2 separate regions of the Homo sapiens genome follow, and region 2 is linked to region 1. The links are contacts of gene promoters, found by promoter capture Hi-C in human tissues and cell types (Jung and others, 2019). All regions are on one chromosome and are shown on one strand. The core of a region is centred on a gene start or on the middle of the fragment in contact, and the rest is flanking DNA. Distances in the headings are between cores, read along the strand shown. Region 1 holds the start of FAM107B (family with sequence similarity 107 member B). Region 2 has its middle 7.8 kb from the start of PRPF18.

Evidence for each region. The method cuts DNA at HindIII sites, captures the fragments that hold promoters and counts their contacts. A contact is called where the count stands out against the background at its distance.
Region 2: a fragment that was not itself captured here is called in contact with the fragment with the promoter of FAM107B in region 1 in 1 of the 25 tissues and cell types used here (lymphoblastoid cells).

Annotation. Positions count from the first base shown.
Region 1 is chr10:14,771,731-14,778,617 of GRCh38, reverse strand. It overlaps FAM107B (family with sequence similarity 107 member B), which reads left to right and starts at 3,721. Exons shown (of 5, transcript NM_031453.4): 1 at 3,721-4,365. The coding sequence starts at 3,955. The HindIII fragment of the contact is 6,601 bases long and covers 1-6,404 here.
Region 2 is chr10:13,575,710-13,582,596 of GRCh38, reverse strand. No RefSeq gene overlaps it. Among named protein-coding and RNA genes, the nearest start is that of PRPF18, 7.8 kb to the left of the region's middle. The HindIII fragment of the contact is 7,679 bases long and covers 473-6,887 here.

The DNA of each region.
Region 1 (6,887 bases), core at 2,472-4,971:
CTCCCTTGGGGTCTGGATCAGTACCCCACTCCTTTCCGGTAACAGTTCTTCTCATATGTCTTGTGATGCTTTGTGATCTCTTTGCGTTTTTTAAATTTTTTATTTTTAAGACAGAGTCTTAAAATATGATGGTGCACAAGACATTTTTGAAGGCTTGGAGGTCACAGGAAGGGATTTAAGAAAAGAAAAATCCATTCTTACACCTGATTTCATTCACTCATTCATTTATTCATTCAATTATGTGCCAAGCCCCTTCTGGAGAGAATCAGCTGTTCACAGTGCAGCTTGCGAGGGGCTGCCACCCAGGCTCTGGAGTGCAGTGGGGCAATCTCGGTTCACTGCAACCTCCACCTCCTGGGCTCAAGCGATCCTCCCACTTCAGCCTCTCAAGTAGCTGGGACTTAAGACACTCACCACCATGCCCAACTGATTTTTAAAACTTTTTTTTTGTAGACACGGTGGCTCACTATGTTGCCCAGACGGGCCTTGAACTCTCCTGGCCTCAAAGGGCCCTCCCACCTAGGCCTCCCAAAGTGTTGGGATTACAGGCATGAGCCATCACGCCCAGCCAGATGTTTTCTTATATATGAACTTGTCTTCTATTGATTAACAATTAATTTTGTGATTACAAACTCTGGTGCTGCGAACATTCTGGGACATACATTTATGCACAAGTATATCTACAGAATAAATTCTTTTTTAAAAAAATTATTATACCTTAAGTTCTAGGGTACATGTGCACAACGTGCAGGTTTGTTACATAGGTATACATGTGCCGTGTTGGTTTGCTGCACCCATCAGCTCGTCATTTACGTTAGGTATTTCTCCTGATGCTATCCCTCCCTCAGCCCCCACCCCCTGACAGGCCCTGCTATGTGATGTTCCCCTCCCTGTGTCCATGTGTTCTCATTGTTCAACTCCCACTTATGAGTGAGAGCATACGGTGTTTGGTTTTCTGTCCTTGTGATATTTTGCTGAGAATGATGGTTTCCAGCTTTACCCATGTCCATGTAAAGGACATGAACTCATCCTTTTTTATGGCTGCATAGTATTCCATGGTATATATGTGCCACATTTTCTTTATCCAGTCTATTGTTGGTGGACATATGGGTTGGTTCCAAGTCTTTGCTATTGTGAATAGTGCCACAATAAACATACGTGTGCATGTGCCTTTATAGTAGCATGATTTATAATCCTTTGGGTATATACCCAGTAATGGGATGGCTGGGTCAAATGGTATTTCTAGTTCTAGATCCTTGAGGAATCTCTACACTGTCTTTCACAATGGTTGAACTAATTTACACTCCCACCAACAGTGTAAAAGTGTTCCTATTTCTCCACATCCTCTCCAGCATCTGTTGTTTCCTGACTTTTTAAAGATCGTCATTACAAAATAACTTCTTAGAGGTAGAGTGTTGGATCAAGGTCATTGGAAATGTCCTCTCTGGAGTATGTATCTGTGTGTGTGCACGTGCATGTGTGTTTTTGGAAAGCAGGATTGCATACTGAGAAAAGTATGAGCTCTGGGGCCAGGTTGCTGGACTCATCACCTTTTCTCATTTCCTTAAGCAGTGCTGTGACCTTGGGCAAGTTACTTAAGTTTCTGTGTCTTGGTTTTCTAATGAGTAAAAATGGGAATAATAATATCACCTTTCTTCTAGGGTTGTGAGGATTAAATGAGTTAATTTGCTGAGATTCATGTCTGATACCAAACACTCAATAACCATGGCCTGTTACTGAGTGTTATTCTAGGTCAGACTTAGCAACACACTAATCAGAAAGTCTACTGTTCTTAGCGGGCCAGTGCTGGAACTCCGATGAGTTCATGCGTGCCTCTGAGCACACCCACTGAGCGAGGAGAGGTGGTCCTCAGAGCCCGGATGCAAGCCCAGGGCCTCCGCAGACCTAGAAAGTGGCTCTGAGCTTTCTTCCTCAGCGGTCTCCTGAATGTGGCCGCTCGCAAGCTGCACTGTGAACTGCTGACTCTCTGTTCCAAAAGGGGCTTGACACATAATTGAATGAATATATGAATGAGTGAATGAAACCAGGTGTAAGAGTGCATTTTTCTTTTCTTAAATCCCTTCCTGTTACCTCCAAGCCTTCAAAAATGTCTTATGCAGCATCACAGCCCCGATTTACTATACGTGTGCTTGGAGGGGCACAGCATGGCACGACCCGACCCGAGTGGACTGTAGCAACCAAGTCAAATGGGAGACAAAGTGCAGTTCCGAGGGGTCTCCAGGAATATCTGGGAGGGGGGACCCTGGTAGAAACCTGAACCCCCTGATTTCTTATGGGTGGGGAATTTGGACAGCTTGCACTTGGGACACAATGAAAAAAGAATGAGCTCACAACCCTGGGAAGCCAGAAACAGCTTGGATAGCACGGGGCCTGCCACACGGTAACCTCTAAATAAATGGAAGCTTTCTATATTCTAACTTTCAGTAGAGACTAAAATAAAATGTGCATTTGATGCCATATCCACTCATTCTAAAGCCATATCTGCCTTTTTGTATTATGAATATGACTGTCCATTTAGAACAATATTTCCCGTATGGCCATTACATCTATAAAATGATTGTTAGATAGAATGAGACTCAGAGGACAGATAGGAGAACAGGGATCTCGGGCACCCAACAAGCCCTTCTTAGTGGCATAAACTTGCCTTAGTCACATGAAATTTCAAAGAATTGGTTTCTGCCTCTGTAAAACGGGAATCAGTGCCATAATATAATAACTACCACCTGTCTGGGCCAAAGAGCACATCTTGACATTAAATTAAAAGAGAGAGCAAACAAATTAATTAAGAGTGGGTAACATGCCCAGAAATCTTGACCCTAAAATCACTATTAACGGTAAAAGCATTACAGTATTACATTTCTATAACATTCCTAGCAGACAGTTGGCTAAGGAAAAATCTTGATTCTGAATTGTCTTAGAATATGTTTATAATTTATTATTTTTCACCATTCACATATTAATGTGTTGAGAAACAGAAGATCTATGTTCAAAAAGGAGTTACTTTCTGAAAGTAGGTGATATATACCATATAGGTAGAATACTTCACATGTACATAATACCTCCACACATAATAACATAATACATAAGGATAATTGTTAATGTAGGGCTCTCTTTTTTCTTTTTGGTATTGTTGAAAACTAATCAAGAACTTAGCCTAGCTAGTAAAAAAAAAAAAATCAAATTACCAAAGACCTATTTATAGTTATCAGAAAAGGCAATGTGGATCCTGAAACCAGGAAACTTGTTTTGAGGGTGGGGGGAAGATTCCGGGAAGATTCCGGAAAGATCCCGAAAAGTCCAGAAAGATTCAGAAAACACATCACACCGCATCTCTCCAGGCGAAAGATTGAGTCTACCTCCTATTTTAATAATGAAACAGCTGCTAGGGTCGTGGCCCTTCTAGGGGTCTTCATTTGTGATGGACAACTGGGTCGTTTTTGTTTTGTTTGGGGGAATAAATATTTGAAGGGGGGTAACCAAAGAAGGTTTTGCTGCTGTTATGATGTTATTGATACGCAGGCTGACGCTATTATGGCAGATGCTATCAGGCTACATTATCTTTATGCCTCCTAGGTAACCTGAAGCAATTGTCTATTGACTTGGCACTACCCTACCCTGAAGCGTCTGCCCTGCCTAGGAACTGTAACCGGAGCCACTCACATGCCTCCCCAACAGCTTTCTTTAGCCACTGACAGCATCACAGAAGGAAGAGCGCGAAATTGCCCAGGATGGACACTTTCAAAGGGGCCCCAGCGGCTAAGTGACTCTCAGGGAAGGTGGCCTTGCCATCCCAACTTCTATTTAGGGGCAACCACTAGCAAGTTCTTCTCTTCGGGCAATTGGAAAGAGTTCCTATAAGCAAAGTGGAGGTGATGTGGACCCCTGGAAAATTTCCTTGCCCCGTTTGAACTTTGCAATGATTCACTGCAAGTCATGTCCACGTGGAAAGCAAGACTCACCAAAAGACTGAAGTCTCCCTCTAGAAGCATGCATCCATTTCCGTGCTCAGCTCTGCTCGCCTGTTTTGGGAATACGAGGGAGAGTGCTTCCTTCAATCAGTCCGGCGTGGCTGATACTCATTCCACCGTCCGTGTGCAGCCTGTGGCCAAAGCAGGCAGACAGCCAAGACACCCAAGCGCAGAAGGAGCTCCAGAGAAAAGGCAAGATTCGAGCACCCATGCAGAGAGAAATGGCAGTGCGAATCGGAATTCAAGTCACCGCACTGCGGCCCAGCCCGCGGAGACGCCTGAAGATGTGCCCGGGTCCCTGGATGATGGGGCGGACTGTGAAGCAGTGGTGTTTCACGCTTCCATCCCCAGACCATCAATTATTGACACGCCCAAGGTGAGTGAGTGTTCGCTCTGCGATTATAGACGGGATGGAGCTGGAGGAGCGTTGGGATCATGTGGCGAATGTTTCAGCAAACAAACTCATTTAACCTTACTGAATAAGGCATTGCGGGCGTTCTCACTAGTGCGAAGAAGTGTGTTAAAGCCGTGTAGATTCTCAGAGTGTTCTCAAAAGATGTGGATGAGGCAATGATAATAAGCACTGGAGCCATGGCAATGACCGAAGGTAACCTTGAATTAACGGGCTAGGGTGCCTTAGAGCCAAAAATGGCTCACTCAATAACAGATTAGGAGTAAGATAGTTTACAAAAACATTTTTTTCCTTTTTCTATTTCCCCCTCCACCCCCACCGGTCTGTCAATTTATTTATATGAAAATCCACAATCTAAAAAGTTTGGCTAGGGAATTCACAAAACTGCCTCTACTTAAAATGAATCACATGATATCAAAGCAGTCTGGAAAAATTTGGAAATGATCATCAGTGTATGCCTAGTGGTACGGAAGGGAACTGACCTATAAAACTATTCATAATATGGATGTTTTTGTGATAATCTTCTGAGAGTTGAAGGCAGGAGGAGGAAGTTATTTAAAAAAAATGGTGCCACTGCTCTTAAGAGTTATTTACTTATTTTCTTTCCATTTTTGGCATCAGTGAATTTTAATTGTTGAGTATTCTGATTAGATGGAGCTGTACAATTATTTCAAAGTTCCCGGTAATCCCAGTTTGCAGATGCAGTGTAGAGGAAAGGTTTTCTAAAAGGTACACTCCAAAGATATCTCTTGACCATTTTTGGTCATTTCCTAGCCAAGTAGCTTAGGACCAGACTTAAAAAACTGAGAAGTCTTTGGGGATCCATCACTAAAGTATTCTGATTTTTTAAATCATTTTTCCACATCCGTTTAACAAATTATTTTTTGGTCTGGCTTGCTTCACAGAATCTAAGAAGCCTCCTTAGCAAGAACACAGCCAACCAGCAAAGATAGGGTTAAAACATCATTTAAAAAATAGTTTCATTTGACACCCTGCAGGTTTATATGAAATGACTGAAGCTTGGGTCTGTCGTCTGCATTCTGAAATTGGACAGAGAGTTTTACCATATCCTCTGTCACAGCAAAAACTGCTATGTTTTTTTCTAGCACCACTAAACCAAAGCCCATAACCAACCAGCAAAAACCAAAATTTTCAGTGTATAGCCACATCCAGATTAAGATATTTTTGGTAGTATTATAGGTAGCTGATTAGAATTCATGGCCAAGTTGATATTTGTTGGATATTTATGGTACCAATGATGTACAGTTTTAATGAACCGGAAGACTTTCTGTTGAGCAATGCAGACCCACCTTATATTACTGAAGACAGCCGCAAGAACAAAGGGTTACTTTGATTTTATCTTTCTGTTTTAGTTGCACATGGGACTCAGGGACTCAAGGCAAGCATGTGAATTCAAATAGAACCAATAACACAAAATGGGGCCACATCCATGTTTAGTGTCCACTTGGCAGGAGCAAAGCCATGGGTGGTCCACAGCGTAGGATGGATTACAGTTGGGAAGCCCGGAGCAGAGAGGACATTGTAACAATCCAGACAGGAACAACAGGGAGATAAAGTGGGAGGGGCTCCATGAGGCAGGACACGCGGCAGTTGACTGTGCGGTCCAAACCAGGCAGGGAGGGAAGCAGTGATGCAATGCAAACACTGAAATCAAGTGCCAGGAGGTGCAGGAAGAGGGCCTGATGTGGGTAAATGGGCATCTATTCTAGTTCAAACACCGAGAGCTAAGCTGTGCAGAGCACTTGTAGTTCGCTAGCCCTTATTCTAAGTGCTTTACACAGAGTATCTCAGCCAACCCTGGTGACAGTGAGGTGCATATATATATATATATATTTTTTTTTTAAGATGGAGTCTTGCTCTGTCTCCCAGGCTGGAGTGCAGTGGCACGATCTTGGCTCACTGCAGCCTCTGCCTCCCAGGTTCAAGCAATTCTCCTGCCTCAGCCCCACGAGTGGCTGGGACTACAGGTGCCTGCCACCAGGCCCAGCTAAGTTTTTGTATTTTCAGTAGAGATGGGATTTCACCGTGTTAGCCAGGATGGTCTCGATCTCCTGTCCTCATGACTCCCCCGCCCAGCCTCCCAAAGTGCTGGGATTACAGGAGTGAGCCACCATGCCCGGCCAGTGCATATTCTTATGGTGCCCATGTTACAGAGGAGGGCATGGATGCTTAAAGAGGGTAAGACATTTGCCCAAGGCCACAAAGAGAGGATGTGGCAGAGACAGGACTGGAACCCACTTCTGTTTGACTCCAAAGTCCATCCTCTGAATTATAATGTGCTTCTACTACTAATTAATTGTGTAGTGTTTGAGGATTTAGGATCAACTATTCATATGTGATCTCGCTTGATACTCAATCACATTTAAATATCATACATATTGGCTGGGCATAGTGGCTCATGCCTGTCACCCAGAGCTTTGGAAAGCCAAGGAGGGAGAATCACTTGAGACCAGAAGTTTGAGACC
Region 2 (6,887 bases), core at 3,063-5,562, 1.2 Mb after region 1:
AATTCTGATGTCCAAGGGGAGTAAAAGGCGATGTCCAGCTCAAGAAGAGAGAGACAGGCCAGGCATGGTGGCTCATGCCTGTAATCCCAACATTTTGGGAGGCCGAGGCTCAGTTGAGGCCAGGTGTTCAAGACCAGCCTGGGCAACATAGCAAGACCCCATCTCTACAAAAAATAAAATTAATAAATAAATAAAAGAGAGATAGAATCCACCCTTCTTCTTCTCTCCTGGCCCTCAACAAATTGGATGATGCCCACGCATTACTCAGTCCACCAACTCAAATGCTAATATCTTCCAGAAACATGTTCGCAAACACACCCAGAAATAATGTTTTACCGGGGATCTGGGTGGGCATCCCTTAGGCCCGTCAAGTTGACACAGAAAGTTAACCATCACACTGGGAGTATTTACACCACAGAAATTGGCAAACTGTTGATCTATTGTTTTGTTGGGTGTCTAAACTTTAAAGTTTATGGAGAAAATGTTCACAATACAGATCAGGGTTTTTCAGCCTTGGGCCCCGTAGTTCCTTACTGAGGGATGCTTCTGGCCTCATGTCATTAGACACCAATCACATCCCTTCCCTAGTTGTGACAACCAAAAAAAAAAAATCTCTGGATCGCCAAATGTCCTTTGAGAAACCAAATCTCTCTCTAGTGGAGAACCACTGATAAAAATTAAATTTATTTATGTATTTATTGAAACAGAGTTTCCCTCTGTCACCCAGGCTACAGTGCAGTGGCACAATCTCGGCTCACTGCAACCTCCACCTCCTGGGCTCAAGCGATTCTCCTGCCTCAGCCTCCCGAGTAGATGGGACTGCAGGCATGCGCCACCACACCCAGCTAATTTTTGTATTTTTAGTAGAGATGGGGTTTCACCATGTTGGCCAGGCTGGTGTTGAATTCCTTGCCTCAAGTGATCTGTCAGCCTTGGCCTCCCAAAGAAAAATTAAATGTAAAAGTGTTGTGTCTGTAACCATTACTTAGTAAATAGGACAAAAAAATTGAGGAAATAGTCTTCTAGTATTTGAAAACTATCATCTGATTCAATTGAGTCTCTCCTGTCATTGACAAACAAGTGAAGTTCTGACATACATCTTCGTTGTTCACTTTTGTCTTATTCATTGATTGAAGCCAAAATATCAGCCAGCGTTCATGTCAGACAGAGCTGGACATGTTCATCAATTATAGCCATAGGTTGGCTAGGAATGCTGGAGTGTTGCAAAAATCAATGAAAGCATTCTGGGAGAATCAATGGGCTATATGGAATTTACAATAAAGATTATTGTACAGTTTATTATTATTTATAAATTGTGTCCTCTGCATGCTTTATGTCAGTAAAAATTATATGAATATATGTGCACACCTTTTTTTCCCCCAAGAGGCGATATTTTAAATATTTCCAGCACAGCACTGACCATGATCCACCTCCCATGTTGGATGATTACCAGAAAATTGTTTAGCAAAGAAACTTGGAATATCAAGAAAAAAGAGTGAAATAGAGTTGCAAGAAGACACATGAAGAGTAAACCGTGAAGAATAATCCCTGCTCCCCCACCCCCAGATCTCCAATTCTCTACTCTGGTTCTTCCTAGAGTCTGGCTTGTATCCCTGTCCCAAAAAATACCACTGAAGCCTACTACCATATTTTGGCATTTTTAAGGTGCTCTCTTTTTTTTTACATTTCAATGTTTCTGAATTCAGGATGCACCTTACAACCAATATGTTACAACCACCACAGTGAGGACTATGATGTTCTCTCCAGATATTCTCTTCAGGCCAACCCACCTGTCCCTCATCTGCAGGGAACAAGGGTTGCTGAGGGCACACAGCTACACCCTGCACTGGCATGACCCCAGGCGACAGGGACCAGTCTCGGCCACAGGGACCAGTCTCAGCTGCAGGGACCCACCTCAGCCAGGGTTACCACTGCTTCAAGGGGCATCCCAAACCAATGACTGATGTAGAGATTCAAAAGCCCAACTCCATTGCCTCAACTCAACTCTAAAGGGTCATTCTATCTAGCTCCAGAGCTTGCCCCAGGAGCATGACAGAAGGTCTCAGCTGCAACTTCTTTGCAGTCCAGCTTCTCCCTCTGCCAAACCCAGCCTTCCTCATTTCCTTACAGATGCATCTCCAAGAGGATTCCCAAAGAAACAGAACCATTTGCTCACAAAGTAAAGAAATGTTTTGTTCTGGACTCATGGGTATACGCTTATCCGTTTGGTAGGGAATTTTAAATTGGTATTCTAGTTTTTACATCAGTTATTTTTGTGGATATCGTTAATGAGAGTTGCTCCCTGGCCTGGTCCAAGTCTGGTAACACCAACAGAATTGAATTTAAGAGTGTTAAAATTTGAACCGGGCGCAGTAGCTCATGCCCATAATCCCAGTACTTTGGGAGGCCCAGGTGGGCGGATCACCTGAGGTCAGGAGTTCAAGACCAGCCTGGCCAACATGGTAAAGCCCAGTCTCTACTAAAAATACAAAAATTAGCCAGGTGTGGTGATGGGCACCTGTAATCTCAGCTACTTGGGAGGCTGAGGCAGGATAATGGCTTGAACCCAGGAGGTGGAGGTTGCAGTGAGCGGAGATCACACCATTGCACTCCAGCTTGGGTGACAAGAGTGAAACTCCATCTCAAAAAAAAAAACAAAAAAGAATGTTAAAAGTTGAGAAGATCTTGGATCCTGGTAGATCTGCAAATATCAGTCAGCCCTGTGATGCCCAGGCTGAGACTGACACCAGCTGACAACCACCAGTGCCATCTTCTTTTCTTGAACATTCACAGTAATCGGATGGGGGGGCAGCCCATATACCATAGCCAGTGCCCTTTTCTTGTTCCATGCCATTTCTTGTCTGCTGTTATCTGTCCTTCTATTCTCTTTCTCCCAAATCTTTTATACTGTTTTATTAGTGGTATATTCGAAATAAAATGAATTAAAGAGGGAGGTCAAGAGAAAAAGAGAAAAAATTCAAGATTAGATTAAGAAAGGAGGCTAGGCACCACGGCTCACGCCTCTAATCCCAGCACTTTGGGAGGCCGAGATGGGCAGATCACTTAAGGTCAGAAGATCGAGACCATCCTGGCCAACATGGTGAAACCACATCTCTACTAAAAATACAAAAATTAGCTGGTGTGGTGGCACGTACCTGTAATCCCAGCTACTCGGGAGGCTGAGGCAGGAGAATCACTTGAACCCAGGAGGCGGAGGTTGCAGTGAGCTGAGATCACGCCACTACACTCCAGCCTGGGTGACAGAGTGAGACTCTGTTTCAAAAAAAAAAAAAAAAAAAAAGAAGAAGAAGAAGAAGTAACCAAGAATGCAAAAGTGCTTGAAGGAAATGTGAGAAATACTGCCTGCAACTCACTGGCAATAAACTTGAAAACCTAGAAGAAATGGATGATTTCTTAGCAAAAATCTAAGTTACCACAATTAACCAAGAAAGAGTAGAAAACTTTAATAAGCAAATGGAACACAGAGAAAGCAAAGTGATTGTAGACCCCACTTATAAAGGCGCCAGATCCAGATGTTTTCCTATTGAGATCTATGCAGCCTTTGAAGAAGAAATACTCTAACATGATTTGAGCAAGTTATTCTCAAACTTTTTGGTCTCAGAACCCCTTTCCATTTTTAAAAATTCTTGAGGACCCCCAAAAAGCTTTGTGTGGGTTATAGCTCTTGATATTTGTCATACTAGAAATAAAAACAGAAATTTTAAAAAATTAATTCACTTAAAATCATATAATGAACACTTTATATATTAATACAAACAACATGTTTTTGTCAAAAGCAATTATAGTTTCAAAAAATTTAATGAGAAAAGTAGCATTATTTTACACTGTTGCAAACTTCCTTAATGTCTAGCTTAGTGGAAGAACACAGGATTCTCCTATCTACTTCTCCATTCGATCTATTGCAGTATATTATATTGGTTGAAGCATATAAGGAAAATCTAGCCTCACAGAGATACATAGTTGGAACAGGGAAAAGTATCTTAATTCTCATGGAAATTCTTCTTTGATATTACCTCCAACTTTGAGTAGCAGTCGTTTTTTAAGAGTTAGTTGCAACGTGGAATCTGAAACATTAAAATTCACTGGTCTATCTTGAATTTTGGATGGATCTTTTACTCATACGTGATTTTGTAGCAGAATCCATTGGTCATTTGGAAAGTATAAGCTCAGTGATGTATACAGATCTTCCAAATGTTGACACATTTTATTACACAGTATTTTAAAAATCACATTCATTAATACCACCTCCTCCCTCTCATCAGAAAAAAAGTCTTTTTTGTTGTTTTGTTTTGAGACAGAGTCTTGCTCTGTCGTCAGGCTGGAGTGATCTCGGCTCATGGCAACCTCTGCCCTTCAGGATCAAGCGATTCTCCTCCCTCAGCCTCCCAAGTAGCTGGCATTACAGGTGTGTGCCATCACGCCCGGCTAATTTTTGTATTTTTAGTAGAGACAGGGTTTCACCATGTTGGCCAGACTGGTTTTGAACTCCTGACCTCAAGTGATCCACCTGCCTCGGCCTCCCAAAGTGCCAGGATTACAGGCGTGAGCCACCACACCTGGCCAGAAAAGCCTTTTAATCCCTGGGCAGACATCAAGCTCATGGTGACAGGTGCAACTTTCCAAAATGCTAATTTTTACTGAAAGCTCACTTTTATCACTAGCAACAAATATTGTCTGGTGTTTTCCTCAAATGACAGGCTCACTTTGTTCATTTGCAAAAAAATGTCCACCAGAGAGTATAAATTAGTTCAACCATTGTGGAAAACAGCGTGGCGATTCTTCAAGGATCTAGAACTAGAAATACCATTTGACCCGGCAATCCCATTACTGGGTATATACCCAAAGGATTATAAATCATTCTACAATAAAGACACATGCACATGTATGTTTATTGCAGCACTATTCACAATAGCAGAGACTTGGAACCAACCCAAATGTCCATCAGTGATAGACTGGATTAAGAAAATGTGGCACATATACACCACGGAATGCTATGCAGCCATAAGAAAGGATGAGTTCACGTCCTTTGCAGGGACATGGATGAAACTGGAAACCCTCATTCTCAGCAAGCTATCACAAGATCAGAAAACCAAACACCACATGTTCTCACTCATAAGTGGGAGTTGAACAATGAGAACACATGGACACAGGGAGGGGAACATTACACACCGGGGCCTGCAGGGGGTGGAGGGCTAGGGGAGGAGAAATACCTAATGTAAGTGATGGGTTGATGGGTGCAGCAAACCACCATGGCATGCGTATACCTATGTCACAAACCTGCACGTTCTACACACGTATCCCAGAACTTAAAGTATAAAAAAAAAAGAAAAAAATCACACACACACACACACAAGTGAGATGTCATAAAAAGAAAAAAAATGTCCACCAGATACCCAACTCTGAAGAACCATAGTTTGTCTATTGCTTATTCTTTCTAGTAAAAGAAATATTCCATGGGGAAAAAAAGCTAGTTCAGTTTGCATTTCAATTGCACAATGCTTTTTCTAAAGCCAACCATCATACTTCTGTATGCAGCAGGTTGCTTTCTGTGTACTTCCTGTTTCATCACACAGAATATTAAAAAGATGCTTATTCAAGTGTCAAGATTTAATAAAATTAATAATTTCTACTGCTTTATTGAAAATATGTTTAAGTGAAACTGGCCTTTTTTTTTAATTTTTCTTTCATGGGTATATGGCAGTGAAGACTATGACGGCTGGTAAGGTTTCATGCTGGTGTTTTGGTTCATGCTAATGTTACCAGCACACTGACTGTTGTTTTTGTACCTCCAGTGCAAATGTCAACATAGTGAAAAGGGCACATAATGTTAGCGTTATTGTAAAAATAGCTTTGACCTCACCAATCCCCTCAATGGACCGCACTTTTGAGAACTGCCGCTCTAAAATTATTCTAGACTACAGAAAAATTTGGAAAGCTCTCCAGGGCATTTTATGAAGCCATGATAAACTTCATACTGAAGCCTGAAAAAGGACCAATGGAAAAACATATATACATTCTCATTGCATTTATGAACATAGATTGAAAACTTGTGCCTAAAATATTAGCAAATAGAATTTAGCAGTGCATTAAAAAACACACTATGGGCCAGGCAAAGTGGCTCAGGCCTGTAATCCCAGCACTTTGGGAGGCCAAGACAGGCGAATCACAAGGTCAGGAGATTGAGACCCTCCTGGCTAACATGGTGAAACCTCGTCTCTACTAAAAATACAAAAAATTACCTGGGCTTGGTGGCATGCGCCTGTGGTCCCAGTTACTTGGGAGGCAGAGGCAGGAGAATCACTTGAACCCGGGAGGCAGAGGTTGCAGTGGGCCAAGATCCTGCCACTGCACTCCAGCCTGGGCAACAGAGCTAGACTCTATCTCGAAACACACACACACACACACACATCCGCACACACTATGACTAAGTAGGGTTTATTCCAAGGAAATGTACCTAAATAATTAACTACATCAACAAATTGCAAGAGGAAAAATAAAGAATTATATTTTTAAAAAACCCTGAGAAGGCATTTAATACAATGTAGGGGTCATTACTAACAATAATAATAATAATAAAAAACTCTGAGTAAAATAAATATAGGGAAATTATTTAAATATGATAAGATTACTTAATAATATTCAATAGTAGACACGATTCTAAATGGTGAAATACTAAAACAATAAGATGTGGATCATCACTGTCATCATAATAATTCAATCTTGTTTTAGATGTTCTGTGAGAGAAATAAGAAAAAATTAAGAGTAAATATAAATATTGGAAAAACGGAGATAACGTTATTGCATTCTGCCAATGATTCAATCATTTTCCAAGAAAACCCTACAAGCCATTGACTTTTTAAAAACTA